Linked DNA regions of Homo sapiens: all the other regions are linked to region 1. The links are contacts of gene promoters, found by promoter capture Hi-C in blood cells and fetal thymus (Javierre and others, 2016). All regions are on one chromosome and are shown on one strand. The core of a region is centred on a gene start or on the middle of the fragment in contact, and the rest is flanking DNA. Distances in the headings are between cores, read along the strand shown.

The links. Contacts are between HindIII fragments. The CHiCAGO score rates a contact against its expected background, and 5 or more counts as called.
Region 2: a contact is called between a fragment that was not itself captured here and the fragment with the promoter of PIGC in region 1, in 4 of 17 cell types (naive CD8 T cells, naive CD4 T cells, total CD8 T cells and 1 more). The highest score is 6.7, in naive CD8 T cells.
Region 3: a fragment that was not itself captured here is called in contact with the fragment with the promoter of PIGC in region 1 in 8 of 17 cell types (non-activated CD4 T cells, activated CD4 T cells, total CD8 T cells and 5 more); the score reaches 6.9 in non-activated CD4 T cells.
Region 4: a contact is called between a fragment that was not itself captured here and the fragment with the promoter of PIGC in region 1, in 2 of 17 cell types (megakaryocytes and erythroblasts). The highest score is 7.7, in megakaryocytes.
Region 5: a contact is called between a fragment that was not itself captured here and the fragment with the promoter of PIGC in region 1, in 1 of 17 cell types (total B cells). The highest score is 5.2, in total B cells.
Region 6: a fragment that was not itself captured here is called in contact with the fragment with the promoter of PIGC in region 1 in 2 of 17 cell types (non-activated CD4 T cells and naive CD4 T cells); the score reaches 7.3 in non-activated CD4 T cells.

Annotation. Positions count from the first base shown.
Region 1 is chr1:172,441,733-172,445,721 of GRCh38, reverse strand. It overlaps PIGC (phosphatidylinositol glycan anchor biosynthesis class C), which reads left to right and starts at 1,653. Exons shown (of 2, transcript NM_153747.2): 1 at 1,653-1,734; 2 at 2,892-3,989. The coding sequence starts at 3,100. C1orf105 (chromosome 1 open reading frame 105) reads right to left here. Exons shown (of 7, transcript NM_139240.4): 2 at 564-649. RefSeq lists enhancers at 1,265-1,574, 1,298-1,821. The HindIII fragment of the contact is 3,601 bases long and covers 1,059-3,989 here.
Region 2 is chr1:172,110,671-172,114,659 of GRCh38, reverse strand. All of the region lies in intron 13 of DNM3 (dynamin 3), which reads right to left. Among named protein-coding and RNA genes, the nearest start is that of MIR3120, 26 kb to the left of the region's middle. The HindIII fragment of the contact is 2,904 bases long and covers 634-3,537 here.
Region 3 is chr1:172,128,320-172,132,308 of GRCh38, reverse strand. It overlaps DNM3 (dynamin 3), which reads right to left. Exons shown (of 21, transcript NM_015569.5): 14 at 1,021-1,134. Among named protein-coding and RNA genes, the nearest start is that of MIR3120, 8.5 kb to the left of the region's middle. The HindIII fragment of the contact is 1,978 bases long and covers 1,048-3,025 here.
Region 4 is chr1:172,733,470-172,737,458 of GRCh38, reverse strand. No RefSeq gene overlaps it. Among named protein-coding and RNA genes, the nearest start is that of FASLG, 76 kb to the right of the region's middle. The HindIII fragment of the contact is 1,346 bases long and covers 1,056-2,401 here.
Region 5 is chr1:172,155,508-172,159,496 of GRCh38, reverse strand. All of the region lies in intron 14 of DNM3 (dynamin 3), which reads right to left. Among named protein-coding and RNA genes, the nearest start is that of DNM3OS, 13 kb to the right of the region's middle. The HindIII fragment of the contact is 2,871 bases long and covers 519-3,389 here.
Region 6 is chr1:172,178,190-172,182,178 of GRCh38, reverse strand. All of the region lies in intron 14 of DNM3 (dynamin 3), which reads right to left. Among named protein-coding and RNA genes, the nearest start is that of DNM3OS, 35 kb to the right of the region's middle. RefSeq lists an enhancer at 984-1,033. The HindIII fragment of the contact is 1,836 bases long and covers 1,086-2,921 here.

The DNA of each region.
Region 1 (3,989 bases), core at 404-2,903:
AAAAATGGAGAAGGGACACGGTAACCCAATTATTTCAAGAGACAGTTGAAATGCTCCCTAGATATGTAATTCCTGCAATTTTGAAAAATAGATTTATGTGTCATATAGTAGTTTGTTTGGAAGGAGTAGGACTAACAGGAATGTAGGAGGGTGCCTCAAAGTTACATACAGAGTTACTATTCTATAAAGATGGGAACTTACTGTTCTAGACTTTTGATGGTAAAAATGTGAAAATTTCAGACTACAGCAGTGGAGAAAATGTGGGGTGAGAAAGAGGATGGAAGTGTTTTGAGAGACAGTGTCTAGGGGAAAAATTATCTTATACTGTTGAGTGGTAGTGGTGGAGAGGGAAAAATTTTGAGATCTCATCTCCTCTAGCCAGGCCTATACTCAGTGATCATTTTTTTCTGAGAAACCCGGATTATTTCTATTTTTAAAGCACTTGACTTGAGTTTCTCAATGGATCAAATGTGCCCTCTGATAATTGTCCCCATCCCTTAAGAAGAAATCATCTTCTGTGAGATGTTTCGTAAAACTTTTGCCCTCGGTGGCTGAGAGGTTACCTTCTGGGAAGGCTGAGCACTAATGGCTTGTTTACAAGGCTGGCCTCACTAAGCCAAGGAATCTTGTCAAATTTTGGAACAGAAGCCTAGAGGGAAATAGAGAACATTTTACAGAATATATCACACTTAAACATTGCTATCATTACGATGGCCAAAGTCAGCTAATAGCAGCCATATAGTGAACACTTTACAAACCATTTTTATATTTAACTCTTTAACCATCCTATAAAGTAGCCAAGTGCAAATAATGTCATCTCCATTTTACTGATGAAGAAATCAAAGCTCAGGTAGTGTGATTTGCCTTGAGTCACTGAGCTAGTAAATGGGTCATGTTTTCTGACTTTTATTTCCACTGTATCCTGTGTTTTACTACATCCCTTTGTTTCTTTATTACTTCCTTCTGTTTATATATCCTTTAATATTTCCATGAACTCAGTTTAATTAGCAATCTTGTCCTCACTTCTTTTAGGAGGTAAAGAGGAAAAAAACCAAGCTTTGAAGCTATAGACAACTGGATATTGATCTCTGTTCATCTACTTCCCAGGTGCCTGTCTTTGGACAAATACAACTTATCTGAGCCTTAGATTTGTCCTCTTTGAGGGGGGAGATGATATAATCAGTGTAAAGGTCAATGCACCAAAAAAGAGAGTTTCATGAGAGCAGCAATTTTTGTGTGTTTCATTCACGGCTGTATCATGAGCACCCCAAGCATGGCTTGTTACATGCAGGCATTCAATCAGTATCTGTGGAATGAACGCATGGATGCACGGGAAGTCCCAGCTGAGGGCCTGACTTAATAAAGGAGCGCAACAAAAGCGGCCATTATCTCTCACCTACTGGCCCAGCCTCTTTCCTTGTCCTCTCTTGCCTTACCCAGTCCTTCAGATGGCACATCCCATCTTTCAATAGGGGATTGCTGGGGATTTGCCTTCCTAGGCTCAGAGCATTCGGGTTTGGGCCAGTCTCCAGGAGAGGAGACCGGAGGTCCTTCGAGCAGCCAGGAGGGGGCAGCAGTCACGTCGCGATGGTTCCAGCCGGGGAAGGGTGCCCTCGCTAAGGAGATTGCGGCGGACCCGGAAGTGCTTGGCCACAGTCGCAGCCCCGGCGCCCCGAAGCGGGAAAAAGGCTGGGTGCCGCCGTCCCCCAGCTGCGCAACCCTAGGAACTCTCGGGTAGGTGGGTTCCGTGTAACGGTCAGTGTTTCCGGGGCTCCTTTTCCTCTGCTGCCTCCCGCAGACCCAAGGCTGAGTGAGGGGCGGCGGCGGAAGTGGGAGGCCCACCCAAAAAGCCAAATGGGGTGCCAGAAGAGTGAAGGCGCACCCTGGGGTCACCCTACCCTACCCCGTCCCCTCCCAGCCCCACTCTGCGGGCGGGCGCTGCCCTTTTGGGCGTCGCAGACCCTCCAACCCCGGCGGCGGCCTTAAGATTCCCGGGCTGGGATCCCTGCTGCAGAGGGGGTAACGGTGTCTGGCTTGCCAAGCAATATTTGTTGTGGTCTATCATGGAAGAAATAAAGTCGGGCAATATGAATTTTTTTTTTCTCAAATTTGCCGGATGGCTGTGGTGTTTCTGACTCTTAGTTTTCTCATTGTGAAAAAGGAATGATTATCTTCTTCGATCCTCTCAAGAGTTTCCTTGTTTTGAGTAGATTGATAGCTCTTTAAAGGATGCTAAGCTCAGCTAATGGAAGAAGAGTCTAGTTTCTTTGAGGCTTTGATTTTGGTTAAACTATAGAGCTCATACCTTTCTGTATGGTGCAGCTTACTATTGTCTTTGGATTGGTAACTTAAAAAATACAAATAACATGCCTTTGAGAACCAATAAAAACTATGGATATTATCCCTATAAATTTACACAAATCCAGATATAAGCATGCAATGTGATATACCTAAGGGATATGTGAACCACTGAGTTAAGAACTGCTTTAGAGGGAGATACAATGTGAGACACAGGCTTTGGGATAAGACTTTGGTTTGAATCCTGGCTCTGCTCTGTTACCTTAGGGCAAAGTTACTTAAGCATCTTGAATCTCAGCTTTTTTACCAAAGCAGGACTAATACTAACTTACAAGGTGGTGAGGATTAAGTGAAAGAAGATACATAAGGCACTTAGCACATAGTAGGTACTCAATAAGCGATAGCTAACAGATGTCTATTATTATTCAAGGAATTATAATTTTCAAATCTGAAATGCAGTTTTAATGTCCCATAAGGTGACTACCACATACATTTTTCTCAGACTTTTAGTAAACTGAGTTGATTTGACTTTATCTCAGTACTACTCTTGACCTTTCACAACTTTCGTAGGTTCACAGTCTCTCTTTTTCTAGGAACTTGGCTGTGTTGTCCTGCCTCAGAGACAAATTCATCTATTGTAGGCCTAGCCCCTGCCTTTGAAAACAAGGAAAGGTTGGTAGAACATCAACACAGCATGGAATTTCCAGGGAGGTCTCATTTCAAAACTTCATAAAGAACAAGAACCACCTGGACTTCTGTGAGGGCGATGATTAAACTGGCCTGAGTTTGAATGAAAGGATAATGTATGCTCAACCTGTGACTAACACCAAGGAGGTCAAGTGGCAGAAGGTCTTGTATGAGCGACAGCCCTTTCCTGATAACTATGTGGACCGGCGATTCCTGGAAGAGCTCCGGAAAAACATCCATGCTCGGAAATACCAATATTGGGCTGTGGTATTTGAGTCCAGTGTGGTGATCCAGCAGCTGTGCAGTGTTTGTGTTTTTGTGGTTATCTGGTGGTATATGGATGAGGGTCTTCTGGCCCCCCATTGGCTTTTAGGGACTGGTCTGGCTTCTTCACTGATTGGGTATGTTTTGTTTGATCTCATTGATGGAGGTGAAGGGCGGAAGAAGAGTGGGCAGACCCGGTGGGCTGACCTGAAGAGTGCCCTAGTCTTCATTACTTTCACTTATGGGTTTTCACCAGTGCTGAAGACCCTTACAGAGTCTGTCAGCACTGACACCATCTATGCCATGTCAGTCTTCATGCTGTTAGGCCATCTCATCTTTTTTGACTATGGTGCCAATGCTGCCATTGTATCCAGCACACTATCCTTGAACATGGCCATCTTTGCTTCTGTATGCTTGGCATCACGTCTTCCCCGGTCCCTGCATGCCTTCATCATGGTGACATTTGCCATTCAGATTTTTGCCCTGTGGCCCATGTTGCAGAAGAAACTAAAGGCATGTACTCCCCGGAGCTATGTGGGGGTCACACTGCTTTTTGCATTTTCAGCCGTGGGAGGCCTACTGTCCATTAGTGCTGTGGGAGCCGTACTCTTTGCCCTTCTGCTGATGTCTATCTCATGTCTGTGTCCATTCTACCTCATTCGCTTGCAGCTTTTTAAAGAAAACATTCATGGGCCTTGGGATGAAGCTGAAATCAAGGAAGACTTGTCCAGGTTCCTCAG
Region 2 (3,989 bases), core at 836-3,335, 330 kb after region 1:
CAGTACTTGTAACCATTACTCCAGAATATAGCATTATATAAGTAAGTGTTAGTACAGGGAACAAAAGGCACAAGTGCATGGAAGAGGAAAGGATCTCATTCATTAGATAAATTGGGATACCTTATTTCCTTTGTACTCTTGCCAAATTGCTGGGTAGGGCAGGTACATAAGTATATAGAGTCTTAGAGATTCTGTAATGGAAGAACCTTTATGAAGAGTACGAAACAGGTAGAAGTGATCACCTACATCTCAATATCCACACTAAAAACAGAAAGTGTCTTAGAACACCCAGCCTAATCTCTTTCCACTCTTTGCCACATGTTTCAGCCGCACTGGCTATCTTTTGGTTTCTACAACATGCAAGTTCTTTCTAGTCCTTGCTGTACCTTCTGGCAAGACTCTACCTTCTGACCTTTGCATGGTTAGCCACGACTTGTCATGCAGAACTCACCTTATACCATCCCTCTTCAGAGAGGTTCTCCTATTACCTCTCTCCACACTGCCCCTCCATCTTCACTTTTCCTCATAGCAACCAATTTTAATTCTCTACACTGAAAATATGTACAATTTCTTCTTGCTCATTTGTCTTTTTGTTGTTCATTTTCTATCTTTTCCACCACTAAAATATAAGCTTCATGAGAGAGTGAGAACTTAATCTGTCTTATTTACCACCCCACCCCCAGAAGAGTGTCTGGCATCGATTCAATACATAGGAAATTAAATCAGGAAATAATGTCAAAATCCCTTTTCTAGGCAGTAGGCAGTATTATTTGCCTCTTTGCATCAGATTATTTAAGAAGAAAAGACACTCACAATAAATTTGTGATTGAGATTGGCCTATCAGGGAATTAAAATGTGATTGACAACACAAAAGGGATAACTCACAGCTGATGCCACACGATGCAGGATGTGCTGTAAAATTTTGTGTAAACGCTTTGGGCACTTTTGTCAAGACCAATTTTTGATGCCAGGAAAGTAAAAATTTACGTTAAGAAAACATGGACTTCCTGAGTTGTTTTTTTTTTTTTTTTTTTTTTTTGAGACAGAGTTTTGCTCTTGTTGCCCAGGCTGGAGTGCAATGGTGCAATCTCAGCTCACCGCAACCTCCGCCCCCCAGGTTCAAGTGATTCTCCTGCCTCAGCCTCCCAAGTAGCTGGGATTACAGGCACCCGCCACCAGGCCCGACTAATTTTTTTGTATTTCTAGTAGAGATGGGGTTTCACCATGTCGGCCAGGCTGATCTCGAACTCCGACTTCCTGAGTTTCTTTGAGTACATCTGTTCCTCAATTGTAAAAAAGTGGGGGAGTGGCAGAAAGAGCTAATAATAGTATATCCCCTTATAGAATTGTGGTGAAAATTAAATGAGGGAATCCATAGAACAGGGCCTCACACATAGCAGGAAGTTAAGGAATGTTAACGTTACCAAGATAAAATTTAAAATAACAGTGGTCATTCTTGGAGTTTATTTTCTGAATATAATTTTTTACTTCTTTCCAATTTGACTTTCTTATCTCATCAAGACAAATCTTTCACTAAGGAAACCCTATTTACCTTTAATCATCAAACTATACTTTCAGTAAATACCCCACATTCAGTAAATAAATAAGGCATTAATTATAACCCTGAGGACTACTTTAAACTGCTAACGTTATTAAATTAGAGGAGCCATGAGAACTACTGGTTAAGTTAAAGTTTACTGGTACAATTCTGAGAATTCAAAAGGACAACTTTATTAATTGCAATAATAAAAATGGTTGCTAACCCTTAATGAATATTTACTATAAGCAGTGTGCACTTTACATGGATGTCTCACTAATCTTCTCAACAACCCTATGAGATTCACACTGCTCTTCCTCTTTTATCTTTGAACACTGTGAGGCATAGAGCGACTCAACCTTATGATGTGAATGATTCAGCTTACAAGTGGCAAGTGGGGCCCCAAACTCATCTCAAGCTCCAGGCCTATGCTATTAAATTCTCCCCTCTGTTTTCAGGGATAAAAAGACAGATATCACTACAGATTTTTATCACTGGAAAAAAAGCAATTCCTTTGACATTCAGGAATTGGTTATGTTTTCAGGAATGGCACATACTGGAAAATGGAAAGACTGAAGAGGTTCAGGGCCAGGGTCACTGTGATGAAAGAATCACTCAGATTTAAGAGTCAAAAGAGTACCAATGAGTGGAAAGGGCCAAGACTTTGTAGTTGATCCCTAGCTCCACCATATTAGTCACGTGGCCTTGGAGAAACCAGAGTGGAAGCAAACAATTGTGAGCCCCAGCTCTGGTGCTGGACTTCATGAGTTTAAATCCTAGCTCTACCACATACTACATGTGTCACCCCAGACAAGTTATCCAACCTCTCTGTGCCCCAGTTACCTCAGTCATGAAACCGTTGCTACCTAGACCATAAGGTCGTTGTGAAGATTAAGGAAAATAATGAATGTCAAGTGCTTACCACAAGGCTGGTATGTAAGAAATGCTTAATCATATCAGCTATTTTTATTATTATCCATCGAAATGAAGATAAGAGTATATGCTCTGCAAGGTTATTTTGAAGAACAAAGCACCTAACACACTGCCTGATATAAAACACCCATGCAATAAATTATAGCTATTATTATGATTATTAAAATATCAAATATTCCAGAGAATGACAGGTAGAAGTATAAATACGTAGAGCAGTTTCTGGGCAATCCTTCCAAAAGAATCTTCTGGTATGCAATATGGACATCATCACCAACAAAAGATCTCGTGACACCTTTGTAGTCAATGAAGTTTTATAATTTGTCCTTTGCAAAACCCTTAAATGGCTAAATTGAAAGTAACATTCTAAGATTAAAAAAAAAAAGGAGTCCATCTATTATACTATTTTAACAAATAAAGAAGCTCTGGTAGCCCATGTGGCTCTCTTTCTTCTATCTACTCTGTTCACTATCTGAGTTTAGCACTTACATCACCTTGTTTTGAATTACTCGCCACTGTGTTTGCTGTGCTCCCATTTTCCCAATAAGATTACAGCTTATTCGTTCAAAGCATAGACTTTCTGGGCTTTTAGGTCAGTTCTGCCATTTACTAGCTATGTGAACTTAGGCAACTTACTTAATATAGCCAAGCCTCATTTATTGTCAACTAAGAATTGGAACTAATAATCCTAAATTCAAATAGATTTTGTAAATACTAAGTGAGATGAATGTATATAAAGTACTCAATAGAATGTCTGGCATCAGTGAAGGGCTGATATTATTATCAAGTAGAGATCAACTGTGCTTTATACTCCTTTGGAATACCAAATACTTATACCTTCCCTAGATCACAGATTAGTCAATAAATTATTGGTACCATGGTTCTAAATCAAGGGCAATATCAACACCAAGGGCTACTGTAAACATGTAGCAGTCTTATTGTATTGTCACAATGTCTGGGAGGTCAAGGATGATAAAGGAAAATCTCTCCCATCTAAAGCAACAATAGCATCTGCTAGGGTTTTAATATAAGTCATAATTCAGTGGTTTGCTCTAATTGTTAATCAAGCTTAAATCAGTTTCTTTATTAGATTAGAATTTACTATGTTCAGAATCATATTTCAGAGCTACACGTATTTAATTTAATTTTATTTTTTTGAGACAAGGTCTCATTCTGTCACTCAGGCTGGAGTGCCCTGGCACAATTTCAGCTTACTGCAACCTCGATCTCCCCGGCTCAGGGGATCCTTCCACATTAGCCTCCTGAGTAGCTGACACTAAAGGCGCATGCCACCTTGTCCAGCTAATTTTTGTATCTTTCGTAGAGACAGGATTTTGTCATGTTGCCCAGGCTTGTCTCCAACTCCTGGGCTCAAGCAATCCACCTGCCTCACCCTTTCAAAGTGCTAGGATTACAGGCATGAGCAACTGCACCCAACCTACATGTAACAATTGTTGTGGTGACATATTTATTTAGATGGAAAACTGAAATAGTCACACCTGCAATGACAATTAAATTTAAA
Region 3 (3,989 bases), core at 787-3,286, 310 kb after region 1:
CACTATTACACACAGATCTCCTGAGAAATGAAAAGTGCTATATAAGACATGAAACTTTTCCTCCAAGGAATGACAAAGGCACCCGGTAATGCTTTCAAAAGATGTCAGGCCAAGATAGGAAAAACTTTTAACTTTGAACACATGCCCTTCGTGGCCACATGAAATTGAGAATCTCACCTGTACATAGTTTTGCTATCACAGAGTATCCTTATCTAATGTTTGCATGCCGCATTATAAGTACCAAAAGATTATCAGGTCAGACCAGGGCTATTAAAAATTTCAAGACATAGTTTAATTTCTATCTGTGCTCCCTCACATTTTAATGGTATCGATTTCTAGCACTTAAATGGTTCTGTAAGACTAATATAAGTTTTTTGTTTGCACTTTTATAGCTATCAAATTTAAATGAGTAGTAAGTCACAGGACCAAAATTATTAACATCTAACATGAACCAGAACACTATAATTACCATAATTCATGCTTTTACATAGATATCAAATTCTCAAAGAACAAAATTTGTATAAACAATGATCTGAGACTCACTTGAAGACTAGCGATGTGGACGTTCTTAAAAGCCTTTCATTTGAGACAGATGTCACAGGAACAATTCCAACATGCTTTATTAACTGTGCATCAATATTATTAATTTCACTCTTAAAATGTTCTATTACCTTGGGTCCTTCAACACTTTCTTTAACGAAAATTGTTTTCACTTTACCAGTACATTGACATGATTATAAAGAAGGAGGTTTTCAACTTTGATGCCTACCTCCATTTCTTCAGGTAAGCAAACATATGGTTACAGCAAAGAAATAAACAAAAAGAAAAAGAAATTTGGGCGAATATTGTAAACTTTAAAATCTATAAGAAAATAATAGTGCCTTTTTAAACAAACATTCCAAGCTTAATCTCACTGAAAGAGAACCACTGGTGTCTCAAAATTGCATAGTATAATAATATCAGTTAATTTAAAATGAGAAATACTTTAACAAGAAAACTTTATCACTCTCTGTGACTTACCTCATCATCTTTATACCAGGACAAGCTTTCCGCAGTAAGGACGAACCAGTATCCCTTCGAGCCGCCTTTCATGATGCCAATGTTGCTGATGGTGAGCCACCCCTTGCGAATCACCTACGAAAAAGCAGAAATCAGCAGAGGTGTTTAGTTTAACAAAAGCCACTGGAGATTAGATGTCTTGGACTAAGAAGTTAAAAACAAGATATTAATTGCAATAAAAATAGTATTTTCCCTCCAAACTCAACTTCCATTGAGTTATTCAAGAGAATTTATCTTCCAAAAGTGCAGATGAGTGAAGGGAAGTCTCTCCTGTCAATGAATGGAATAAAAATCTCAGACTCATCGATGGTTGAAGTGGAGTGACTGAAACAAGAATGAAGTGAGGCAAACTAATAGACTGTGTCAGGCCTACTTATGGCATTGTTGCTACAATTAAAACATATTTAGTTGACTGGATGAACAATAGACTCTCCATATCCACTGTCCCTTCCCCACTTCCAGCCTACTGGCCCATTTGTTTGCCTAGTTTGCAGCCCATTAGGATTTCCACCAGAGACCTGCCAGCAAATGACGAAAAGAAGAAACTCAATTCAATCAGTTAGCCCCTTGTTAGTCCTAAATAAGGCTGACTGAAGGAGAAAGATAAAATAATAAACTAAAATGAAAAGTTTGGAGTTTTTAATAGTCTTAATTTATAATTTGAACAGCATATTGTAAAATTTTAAACCTATGAAGTTTAAATCTTCTGGTTGTTCTCTACCATATTACAAAACATGTAGCATCTTCATAAAATTTTTTAAACAGGTTTTAAGTTTTAAAATATTAACAACTTGGATTATAGATTTAACAGAAATTATTTATAGATAAGTATTTATATAATTTAAGGAAAAATGTGAGGTTTTTTTCCCCTCAGAGTTATTGTGAAGTTAAATTCTGTTATCCAGAGGGCATCATTTACCATGTCCTCTATACAAGATAATTTTGTTGTCACAGAACTAGAAATGAAATGCTAAATGCAATTGGATGATATTGTTCTAAGGTCAAAAACTGTCCTACACTGAAATTCCTCAATATGTTGACATCCTGAAATGTTTAAAAATTACTTATTGAAAAACTAATGAATGTAAGTTACTAAAGGAAGATGAAAATACCCTAATAATCAGATTTCATTTTTATATTGCTATTAACTTTTCTAGTTGAAGAAGGAAGGCCAATCCCAGAGAAAATTATGGAATAGACCACGGTTCTCATCACTGTCTTCCAAGCCTCTCTCCATATTTCCAGCCCCTGTCACCCTTGATTCCCTGTTTCAGCATTGCCTTGGTGCCCAATTTCCATTTCAGTGTGCTGTTGCTTTTATAACCCCCATTTAGCATCCCTCTCCAGTCTGGGCTAATGCACTTTTCTCCACGGCTTTTTAACTCTCTACTTCACAAAGAACAGACTAATACTCAAAGTATAGTGATAGTATAGTATAGTGATATAGTTTAGCTATGTCCCCACCCAAATCTCATCTTAACTTTTAACTCCCACAATTCCCATGTGTCATGGGAGGAAACTGGTGGGAGGTAACTGAATTATGGGGGAAGATCTTTCCTGCACTGTTCTCGTGATAGTAAATGAGTCTCACAAGACCTGATGGAATAAAAATGGAAGTTTCCCTGCACAAGCTCTCTTTTTGTCTGCTGCCATCCATGTAAGACGTGACTTGTCTCTCTTTGCCTTCCACCATGATTGTGAGGCCTCCCCAGCCATGTGGAACTGTAAGTCCATTAAACCTCTTTTTCTTTTTCTTCCCAGTCTCGGGTATGTCTTTATCAGCAGCATGAAGACAGACTAATACAGTATGGTTTCTACCAGTTATATTACAATCATTCAAATGCTTTATAAAAATACAGATTCCTGGGCCACCTACCATTCCAAATGAATGAGAATGTATATATATGAAACCCAAAAATCTACATTTAAATATGTTGCCAAGGTGATTCTTATTCACAATGAAGCTTGAAGCCCGTGCATGCACACATACAATCAAACTTTATTTTCCATAGAGTAAATGATCACATCTATTTAATAGTTTTGAGTAAGAAGGAGCTGGTTAAATTATTTCACACTAAGACCATTACCCACCCTACCAGGGCTTACAAGTAGCATGCTAATCATACCACTCAATGAAAATATACTAGTTATTTCATTGTATCAGAGATGCAGAGCAAGGGTGCTGGCATCAGTATGTATAATAAATAAATATTAAATATGAATCTGAGCTTTCTTATTTTCTCGTTAAAACTACGTATCAGTAGATATCTTACTATAGTACCTGCGTTTCAATGGATCTTGCATGCTCCCTGGAACAGAGAAACTAGGTTATAAAACCCATTGCAATAACCCAAGTGAAATATGGCCAGGATATGAATTAAAGCCATGATGTATAAAGTTAAAAGGAAATGAACCTACTGAAGAAATATCTAGGAGGTAAAATCAACAGGATTTATGAGTGAATGAGAGTGGGATTAGTGAGGGGGAAAGACAGAAGTAGGTGATAGTGTAGCCGGTAGCCACTAACCACATATGGTGGTTGAGCCCTATTGACTAGTTTCCATTAAGATGTGCCATAAGTGTTCAAATAAACACTGAATTTTGAAAACTTAATACAAAAAATAATGTAAAATATCTCATTAATTTAAAACAATTATTGCATGTCAAAATGTATTTTACATATATTGGGCTAAATAAAATTCATTGTAAAAATTAATTTCATGTTTCCTTTTGTTTTTTAATGTGGCTATCAGAAATTTTTTAATTACATATGTAGCTTACATTATATTTTTATTGAACTGTGTGCTGTTTTAGAATGATTCTGAAACTATCGCAGCTACCAACTTTTAAAACCAACCATTCTAAAATTCAGAAGGAATAGAGGAAAAAGACCCAGTTTGGGAAACTGGAGGAGTTGACAAATTCAGCAA
Region 4 (3,989 bases), core at 479-2,978, 290 kb before region 1:
CTCCGTCAAAAAAAAAAAAAAAAGAAAGAAAGAAAAAATTAAACAACACCCTTCTAAATAACCCATTGATCAAAAAGTCTCAAGAGAATTCAGAAAATATTTTGACCTACTTAAATATGAAAAGAACATATCAAAAATTGGGGGATACAATTAAAGTCTATAAGCAGCTTACTATAAATATTATTATATAGATCAATTAAAAATAAAAGAATAGAAAATGACAAACCATCAACATACACTAACAAAAAGAATGCAAGAATGGCTATATTGTTATCAAAGCAAACTTCAGAACAAGGAACATTGTCAGGGAGGAAGAGAGGCAAACATACCAAGAACACATAACAATCCAGGTATGTATGTGCAAAACCACAGAGCTTCAAAATACATGAATCGAAAACTGATACAACTAAAAGGAAAAATGGACAAATCTACAATTATACTTGGAGACATCAAAGCACCTCCTGATAATTAACAGAAGTAGAAAATAGGCAAGAATTAAGAAGACCTGAACAACCAGAAAAGTGAACATTTTATAGCTGCTCAGTCCCTTGTCTTTTGAGAGAAAAAAAACATTCTAGAAAAGATAAAAATGAATTTATTTTATGAACAACCCTATTTGACCTAAGTTCCATGAACACTATTCTTCATCAACTAAATACTGGTTGGAACAGACTTATCTTTTATAAAAATTAACAGAAGTTATAATTCAATCTCTAGGTCATTTGTATGGCAGAAATATTACATATAGTTAATATTATTTACAAAGTCATGTTATTTTGACATTATGACAAATTGTGTCAGAAATGCCCAGAGTACCTTCTCTTAGCCTTTTCCTGGGGACTTAATTTTGTTTTTTCTTAGTTATGTCTAGATTTAATCATTGCTTCTGCCAATTCAGTTTCTAGGTTCTGATGTTCAGTTGTGTATAATAGACTATGAAATATAGTGATCTGATAGTTTACTAGCGTATTTAAAGGAAATATCTTTTAAAAGTAAATAGTTTGTGGCAGGCATCAGTCTATGAAAGGGAAGCCTAATTTTGAAAACTATAAGCTTTCATATTATATAATATGTGAAAACCTCATATATGTGAAAGCATTATCGCTATGTATTTTTAATAGCATTATACCAGAAATTTTTAGAAGATTATATACTTTTTAATTAAATTATAGCAGTGAAAATAGCAAACACAAGAACTAGATTTTGGACAGAAGAAGAAAGAAATACATAAAATCTCTTTCACCCTTTTTTCTGATTCTTTTTCAAAATAGCAAACTTTTGCCTGTTGTGACTGAAATGTACTACCAAATATGACTTCTCAGGGTCTTTCATATTTCAAATATTGTATCAATGTGTTTTATTTTTAATTCTCTAATTTATGATAACTTGTTTTTCTAGTTTGTGGTATGCAAAGATATGTGCAGAGCCTTTCAAATAAAGTGACTCTGAACAAAAACAAAAAAAAGAAGATCTGAACATTCTCCGTCAACTTGACCTAATTAATATTTATAAAGTATTCTGCCCTAGAACAAGAGAATATACATTCTTTTCAAGTGTATGTGGAACATTCACCAAGGTAGATCAGAGATTAGCAAACTATAACCTGTGGACAAAATTTCACCCACCATCTATTTTTGTAAATTAGTCTTATTGAGACATAACCATGCCAATTTGTTTGTGTGTTGTCTGTGGCTATTTTTGTGTCACAAAGGCAGAGATGAATAGTGCAGGAGAGACCATATGGCCCTAACACCAAAAGTATTTACTATCTGACCCTTTACAGAAAAGGTTACCTACCAATCTTCTGCACCATAAGCAAACTATAGCCAATTGAAAACAATAGAAAGCATTGTTTTCTTTGACCGTAAGAGAATTAAATTAGAAATTAATAACGAGGGTATCTGGAAAATTCCAAAAATTTTGGAAATTAAGTAAAACCTTTCTAAGTAACCCATTGATCAAAAAGGAAGTCTCAAGAGAATTCAGAAAATATTCTAAATTACCTAAATATTAAAATACAGGGCCAGACACAGTGGCTCCCACCTGTAATCCCAGCACTTTGGGAGGCCAAGGCAGGTGCTTCACTTGAGGCCAGGAGTTCAAGACCAGCCTGGCAAACATGATGAAACCCCATCTCTACTAAAGATACAAAAAAAATAGCTGGGAGTGGTGGCACACACCTGTAGTCCCAGCTACTGAGACACGAGACATGAGAATCACTTGAACCCGGGAGGTGGAGTTTGCAGTGACCCGAGATTGTGCCACTGCACTCCAGCCTGGGTAACAGAGTAAGACTCTTGTCTCAAAAAATAACTACATAAATAAATAATGTTTCAACTCTGGACAATATCCATTGACTTCCAGCCAAGAAACATGAGGAAAAAAAGAAAAGAATAAAGCTTTTAAATTTATATTCCAACTTTATACCTTAAGAAACTAGAAAAATAAGAGCAAATTAAACACAAAGCAAATGGAAGGAAGAAAATAAGAAAGAGCACAAATCAATAAAATTAAAAACACAAAATAGAGAACATTTATAAAATCAATTGTATTAAAACATCAAAATTATTAATAAACCCCTAGCCAGACTAAGACAGAAAAAAGATAACACAAATTATCAATATCAGGAATGAAAGAAGGGATATTACTACAGATACTACAGACATTAAAAGGGTACAAGAGAATACTACAAATAACTTTATGCCCATACATTCAATGACTTAAATAAAATGGAATAAATCTTTAAAGATACACTGCCAAAATTCACTTGAGAAGAAATAAGTAAACTGAGCCATCTATTAAAAGCTGAATTTATAGTTTAAAACCTTCCAACAAAGAAAAGTACCACAAGACTTCACTGATAATATCAACCAAACATTTGAGAAAGTAATAACATTAAATCAACATAATTTTTTCCAGAAAATAGACTAGGAGAAATATTTTCTAAATTTTTTTGTGAGGTCATCATTACCCTGACAACAAAACCAGACAAAATGTATGCAAGAGAATAAAATTACAAACCAATATCCTTCATGAGCATGATCACGAAAAATTCCCAATGAATTATTAACAAGTAATATCCAGGAACATATAAGAAGGAATATACACCATGAGCAAGATAAGTTTATCTACGAAATGAAAGAATGTTTCTTCATTTGAAAATCAATCAGTATAATTAATCATATCAGCAAACTAAAAAAAAAAAAACTATGTGATTATCTTGATTATCTTCATAGATGCAGAAAAAAACATTTGACAAAACTCAATGTCCAGTCATAATTTTTTTAAAAAACTTACAGCAAACTATAAATATAAGGTTGTCTTCTTAAACTGATTGAAGGCAGCTATGAAAAATGTACAGTTAATTTTTTATGGAGAAATAGTGAATACTTAGGACCAAGACAAGGCTAGCTGCTCTCACTACTCTTATTTGACATTGTACTTTCTGTTTAGCTAGTTCAGTAACACAAAAAAAGGAAGTAAAAAACATACAGATTGGAAAGGAGGAAATAAAACTTTTTATTCAGATACATTTGTCTATGTGGAAAATCTTAAGGAATCTACAAAAAGACCCCAGGAATTAATAAGTGAGTTTAGCAAGGTTGCAGGATACAAGACCAATATACAAAATCAATTCTATTTCTCAGTAACAGCAATGGTCAATTTTCTAATCTTTTAATTTTTTAAAAATCTTAGGTGCTGTTTACAATACCACAGACAATAAAATATTTATGCATTGTATATATTTCTTAATATAGCATATTTGATACCACACACATACATACATAGGATCTGTATGCTTAAAATAACACAAAATTAATGGAAAAAAATCAAAATAGACCTAAATAAATGTAGTGATATACTGTGTTCATGGATTGAAAGCCTCAATATTGTTAAGATGTCAGTTCTTCTCAAACTGATATATAGATTCAATGCAATATCGATCAGAAACCCCGCAGGATTTTATGTAGATATCAACAAGCTGATTC
Region 5 (3,989 bases), core at 705-3,204, 290 kb after region 1:
AAAGCTAAAGAAACATGTTTATACACATGCTAAATTTCTGAGGAGGACCAATCCATATGAAAATAAGTTCAGTTCTAGGTGGAGCAGACTATATTTACCACGGCAGTCTTGGACAATAACTCAATGTGAGATGAACTTGCTGTAGCAGAAACACAAACTTATTTTCAAGTAAAAATGCTTTTTCTGAAGATAATACATTTAAAAAGTGTGAGGCAAAGAAGACAAAAGTCTGATGAATCTAGTAGGACTCACACACAGGTAATGCTTGTTCTTTTCCATAGACGGCTTTTTTCTCCAACCATAACTTTTTTGCATAGCTTGGCATTAAGTAGAATGTAAAAAGAGGCAGTAATTAATAAATAATGCCAATGGGTCTCAAGTTGCAAGATAATTTTCCAAAGGACGAATGTGACCATTTAGATGACTTGACTCACTGCCTCTCTCATTTTGCCCCTTATTTGTGAGTATGTGATCATACATACATAGCAGCAAGCAAAACAACGCTTAGGTTTAAAGCTTGATCATGTGCAGAAAGAAGAGAACAAGATCCCCAGCATGTTTTTATCAACACTAAGATTATTCATAAAGGATTATTATTTTAATAAAGTAACACCTAATTTATTAAGCCATAATGCTTATAACTGTAGCTCACATAGTAGAGTATTAGGGAATCTTTTATTTAATAGTAAACACTTTTTTTAAGTATCAAAACTTTTTCTCTATTTTACATCAAACCTATCAATAAAACTTTAAATTCTTTACTTGTCTCTGAAAACAAACCCAAACAGTATCTTTTAGCAAGAGAGAGTTAGTTTATATATTGATTTTAAATTTGGACTTTAGATTTTTTCATTGGTTTGCTTCTATTGACTAGAAACATCTTTCTAATCAGTAGAAACCAAAAGTCCTCTGCCTAGGTTTCAAGGCCTCCATCATCCATCTCACTCATTTATTCAACCTTGTTTCCCTCTCTTCTCACTGCACACTGTCTGTTCTGGACAGGCGATCCTGGATGTTCTCTAGGTCTGTCTTTTCCACTGCCTGTGCCTTTGCTCATGTTCTTCCCACTAGCAGGAATGTTCTCCTTTTTTCATATGCTTCTTCATGGTCTCTCTGTTTTCCAGATCTACCTTCTCCTCCAAGAAACCTTCACTGGTACATTCCTGATCCCCTCTCCATGCCCATCATTGTACCACTCAGATCTTAAGCAGGTCCCAGTTATCAACCTTATCTACTCCTATTCTTCCCCTCACCTTATTCTAGCTCCTCTGGCCTCCAGGCACACTCTTGCCTCAGGGTCTTTGCACATACTGTTCCCACCATTTGAAAGGCTCTTTCCTCAGTCATCCGCATGCTTACTTCCTCACTGCTTGCCAATATAATCTCAAATACCACCTTTCTTAACCATGCTACTTAACATTGCAACCCCATTCCCAGATTTTCTATTCTCTTTCCTTACTATATTGTTTGCACTTTATTATCATGCAGGCAGGATTTTTGTCTGTTAAATTTACTGCTGTATCCCCAGTGCCTAGAATACTGTATGGCACATAGTAAGTACTCTAAATACCTGCTGAATACATTAAGTGAATTTACTGAATGTTAACTACAGTTGTCTCTTGGTGTCTGTGAGGGATTGTTTCCAGGACCTACCATGGATGTCAAAATCCAAAGATACTCAAGTCCCTTATATAAAATGGCACCATATTTGCATACAACCTATGTACATCCTCCTGTATACCTTAAATCATCTTATTTAAAGATTGTAAGTAATCACTTATAATACCTAATGCAGTGTAAATGCTGTGTAAATAGTTGTTATATCATATTGTTTAGGGAATAATGACAAGAAGAAAGCCTGTACATGTTCAGTACAGACCCAATTTTTTTCAAATATTTTCAATCTGCAATTGGTTGAATCCACAGATGTGAAACCCATGGAATTCAGAGGGTCAACTGTATATCCTAAGTGCTTCATAAATACAATAAATTAAATGAATTTACTGAAATGTATGTCCTAAATGCTTGATAAGTATTATCTTGTTTAATCCTCACAATACTCTATGGCAGAGGTTCCCAACCCCTGAACCACGAACGCAGTACCAGTCCTTGGCCTGTTAAGAACCAGGCCATACATATTTATAGCTGCTCTCTATCACTTGAATTACCACCTGAGCTCTGCCTCCTGTCAGATCAGCAGCAGTATTAGATTCTCACAGGAGTGCAAACCCAATTGTGAACTGCACATGCAAGGGATCTAGGGTGTGTGTTCCTTATGAGAATCTAATGCCTGATGATCTGTCGCTGTCTCCCATCATCCCCAGATGATGGAAAACAAGCTCAGGGTTCCCCCTGATTCTACGTTATGATAAGTTGTATACATATTTCATTATATATTACAATGGAATAATAATAGAAATAAAGTGCACAATAAATTTAATGCACTTGAATCATCCCAAAACCATCCACCTCATCCTGATCTGTGGAAAAATTGTCTTCCATGAAACCAGTCCCCGGTGCCAAAAAGGTTGGGGGTCTCCTGCTCTATGAGAAAGGTTCTATTACTCCCAATTTTGCAGATGGAAAAATGTAACACAGAGTGAATTAACTACAGTTAAGTAACTAGCAAGTGGCAGTGTTGGGAATCAAGTCTTCTAACTTAAAAGGACAATGTCTTTTGCACTTTATATGTCCTTTAATGCTTTATATGTCCTAAATGCTCTTACATACATTCTATCCTTACTGCAAAAATAAAAAAATGAGCGATTACTGAAAAGAGTTAGTTTATTTATAGTATACAATCACTTTCTAAAAAAGAATTTAAGGCAATTAGCTTTAGATATAATTTTTCTCTTCCAGAAAAAAACAGGAGGAGGAGGAGGGAAAGGAGGAGAAAAAAATGAACACCTACATTATAACAATTACTTGCCAACATTAGGCGAAAAAAAGTAGGGAACCCAAGGCTTGGCTCTAGTGTCTTTCTAGGAATTATTAGGTAAGAAAAACATCCTGAATCGTCTGGAACATGAAATAAATCTATACTAAGTCTAGGTACTCAAAACTAAGAAGATTACAAAAATATAAATTGCAGGCACCTAGTAAGTCCACAGTCTGTTAGTACTACAGAGCCTGGTCCAGGAGCCATTGTCCATAGGATAGGATGGGGATGGAGCATGAGTTTTAAGTAGAAACAATAAAACTGATGAAGGCTAACTGAGCTGTTATCTATACCATAAACACTGGGGTGGTCATATTAGATTTTTACAGCCAACAGCAGTTCTTACTGGTTGATGCCCCTACTGTCTGGGTTGCTAAATATTTTGGAAATCATCCCTGAAGCTAACATTTTTTTAAGTGCTTAATATACACTGGACACTATGCTGAAAGCTTCCACAGATTAATCCATATAGTCCTCCAACATCCCTATGAAGTAGAAACACTTATTATCCTCGTTCTATGGATGAAAAAAGCCACAAATGATAAATAACATTCACCAAGTCACACAGCAAAGTAAGCAGTCAAGCTGGACGCACACCAAGGCCTTCTAGCTCCTTAGTCTCTCCCTCAGTCACTGCACTCTACTGCCTAACAACAACCAATGGTTTAGCATTGGCTAAACAGACCATATAATATTTTTAGATAAATCTAAACTTATGTGTAGATTTATATTTATCTGAAATACTAAAATCACTATCTTTCTTCTTAACAATTGTTTTTGCCCCTTAGTCATCCCAAGCAAACTCCTTGAAGGTATAAAGTTTGTATTTTCTACCTTAGTATCTCCAGGACAGAGTCTAACATCACAGGCGTCTGATAAATGTTCATGGAGTGAGTGAAAAAATAAAAGAATGACATAACTGGATGTTTACTTTTACATCTCACCTGAAAAATGGCACTTTCCATAGATATAAAGCCCCTTGGCTCTGAGTGTAGGCTTAGACAAATTATGTATTAATTATTAAGTGTAGCCAGCTAAAAAATCACCAGAG
Region 6 (3,989 bases), core at 754-3,253, 260 kb after region 1:
AAAATGTTGTCACATTTTTTTCCTCTTGACCAGACTTCACGTCCCAGCTTGATGACCTTCACACTACAATAATGTTGCCTATTTCTAATAGTAAAAAGTTCCAGTTCGTTATAACCAAAAACTCAAAGAAATCGACTATCAGTCTTGAAACCCCTTACATATTATCTTTAAATAGAGTTCATAAAGTTGTGGCAACACCCACCAAAAACAGACATGAGGCAGATTGATTCATCAGCACCTAATGAGTTAATTAAGAAACAAAAATACAAGAACACACAGAATTATGGCCAGCCTGGCCTTGCTTATTCAGTTTTAGTCAGAGACCACAACTTCTTTCAAATAACCCCAGTTTATTTTCAAAAAAAAAAAAAAAAACCCTGTCTTCAGACAGGATATGGGGGAGGAGTTAAGTGGTGATGTTTTACACATGCACATCTGGATACAGTCCAATTATTTCCCTTAAACATTCCCCCAGTTGTTTTCATTTTGCTCCATGCTTTGGCATTCATAAATTTGTGAGATTAATTGTGTGTCAGCAGTCTGCAGGCCTGGAGCTGGGCACCAGTTTAGTAGCAATACGGCTACAAAACAACTCTGTAGAGAAATACGTTCACATATTTAAAAAGGAAAGCATAGTCACATAGTTCGTTTCTGTTTAATATCAGGCATTGACGTTATGCATAAAGAAGGTAGTGTAATCTTTCAGGGAATTGCCCTAATAGCAAGATATATATAGATATATATCTCCACGCCTACCAGAAATATGTGTGTGTGTGTGTGTGTGTGTGTGTGTGTGTGTGTGTAAACTCAAGTGTTTTAAAGCATAAGAAAGGATTCATCAAGAGGAAAAATGAAGAGTTCAGGGCTGGACATATTTGTGTTCCTTGTTTTCATCTGATTATTTTGAAGGGCGTGTCAACAGATTGCATTTCTTGTCTTGGAAATGTACTAACAATTAAAATCACCTTTGCCAAAAAGAACCAACTTATCTTAGAGATGGTGGAGAAGCATCTTTATTTTAAAAGATGTTTTGCAAAGCCTCTTATGCTTTCAAAATTACTATATGAAAAGTGAAACTAGAAGCTTTCTGCCCTGATGTGTAGGCCTCACAGTCCAGATTATGAGCTCAGCTAAGGAAGAGCTGTGTTCCCCAGAGCCCAGCGGAGTGGCGGCACTTGGTAAGTGCTCCGTACTTGCCAGTTGACAACAAAAGAACTATCATTTAAATGTTGGTAAACAGATATTTATTCTTGTTTAATGTTATTTTGCCTTATATCCATGAGTAGGAAATAAACTATTAGATATTGTGACATTTTTCACAAGTAAATGCCACATGCCAAAGTAAGGTAATAGGTAGGGCAAATTTTCATACATATACATAACAGAGGAGAGTGTTCCAGATTAAAGTTCTGAGATTTGCAACATCAGTATTGGGAGGAAACTGGCAGCTTCTCCTCTAACCCTCTACAGAAACACAAAACAGCTATTGGAAACATGTAGAGCATTCCTCTGGAAAATAATTAGGCTTCAAATAAATCATATGCTATTCCTGCAATAAAAGAAGGAAACTTTTTATGATCTTCTGTTTTCCCTCAAGTATGCTATATGTTGAGAAGTTTTACCTAAATCACACTGTATTCTAGCAGTAAGCTCTTAATTATATAAGAAATAAAATGCATTGCAGATATTACAATGAATCCACTTGTCCTTAGACTATTTATCTATCAGAATATTTTCTAGGCCAATATATTTGAAGGCTACTGAGAAAATCACACACTGTTCTTTGGCTTTAGTTTCCTTGTGAGTAAAATGAGGTGCATAATCTCAGCCCTATCTACGATACAGGGTAAAAGTCAGGATCTAACGAGTGAAATTGGTAAACCATAAAGAACAAACAAGTGTTGGTTAGCATGCAGTAAACATACAAACTCTCCTACTCATGGTTCTGTATTGAAAAACCGAAATACATAGTATCTTATTCTTTACATAAATTAATTTACTGATCTTGAGACCTAACTGAATCATGATAGTATATCCACATAGACTAGATTTGTTCCTACAGGGCAAACTGCCATGCATTCATGCTAAACTATACAAGAGCAGCCAGGTAACAGAAGGCAATGCTGCTTCAAAAACACTGCAAATTTGACTCAGAACTCAGAGACACGGTATGATATTTGTAACATATTTACAGATACAATTAGGCTTTACTGAAGCTAATTGATTTTCACCACCTGAGCTTATTATCTACTAATGGTAGGGTTCTAGTCGTCTAATCCCTGCTATGTACGCCATGGGCGAAAATCTAATTAACCTCTCAGAGCCTTAGTTTTTTAATACATAAAAAAGTAATAACACCTGCTCTGATGAAGCTATTGTGAAGATTAAAATGTGAGATATGAAGAAGTGCTTTTACAGAGTAGTCACCCAGTACTTATTGGTTATATCTAAAAATTATTGAATCTGTATTCCCAAAACTATGCTGGAAAATAAGTCCAGAATTAAATAAGGCCACAAATAATCCAAGCAGAAATGATCCGGCATAGCATCATTAAAATATACACACATATTTATAAATATTGCCTGTATACATTTTTCTTAGAAAGTCCATGTAAGTTATACAGAAGCTGAAATAAACCATAGCAAAAAAAACTTCTCCCCTCTTCTCAATGACATCTTGAATTTAGCAGTTCTTATTTTATTTTAGTAGAATAATACTTCTATTAAATCACTTTAATGATAATTATAATTAATACTTATATAATCCTTTAACTTTTCAAAGCACGTTCATACCAATTATTTTCTTTTGGTTTCCAAACAACATTATGAAAATATAATCTTGAATTTAATACCAGTTAAATACTAGTGGGAGTAACAAACTTTGTCAAAACTAAGATGCAATAACACTACTCAGAAAAGCTTTGCAACACAACCAGTGGCCAAATTCCACTTCATTACATGTAGATCACAGTCCACAAATGACAATCAGTCACCACTAATAATAAACAAAAAATTTTTGGATTCTAGTCCAGGCAGGAGAATGCTTTTCATGAATGCAAAATTAGAGGTGACATTCTGAAAGTAGGCTCCACAAAACAACTAGCTCAGCATTCTAAGTCCAGTTTCATTCAAAGTACACACAGATAACTACTATCACCGCCCTGGCTTTAGAGTATTAGCTCACCCAGCAGTTCAAAGCATTCCTTATATTTTAGACTAGAGGAGGATCACCATTTTTGCTCTATTTTATGGACTGAGACATAAAGCGATAGAGACATGCCCATGGAGCTGGAATAAGACTTATTCTATTTCATCTCCATAAGGTGACCCCTTAACCCCCTGCAATCTAGCTTCTGTCTTTACCATTGTATTGACAATGAAATCCTAAAGATCACTGATGATCAACTAATAATCAAACCCAGTGACTTACTCTTTCTTCCTTTCATTGATATCTCTGTAACATCAGCTTGAAGTTGAAGTAAACCAGGGTCCATTCTCTGTCTCTCTTTCTCTCTCTGTTTTGCTCTCTTGCTGTATCTCTTGCACACCCTTTCTCTCTGTCTCTCTCCCTCTCTTCATCATCACGGCATGCACTATCTTACTACCTTGCTTCTTTTAACTGCTTCATCTATGTTCATTCCTATCCCTTCCTTACTTGTGGATTCTCTGACTTACACATCAACCTCCTACTCCCCTCTCCAGTCATCTTCACTTCATATATGTAAAAAATTTACTACTGTACTCTCAGAATTATACAGACTCAAGTACATAATAAATACTCAATAAATATTTTTAAATAAATGAATAAATTACTCTCAATGGAAAAATCAATCTCTGGACACTTTCTTAAGATTTAAGTTTATTTTTTAACACCAGTGTGTTGGATGGATTGGAATTGGATTTTTTTCTTCTTCTTATTACAGCCATATGCCACATAACCACATTTTAGTTGAGAAGAGACCACACCTTCAATGACAGTGGTCTCATAA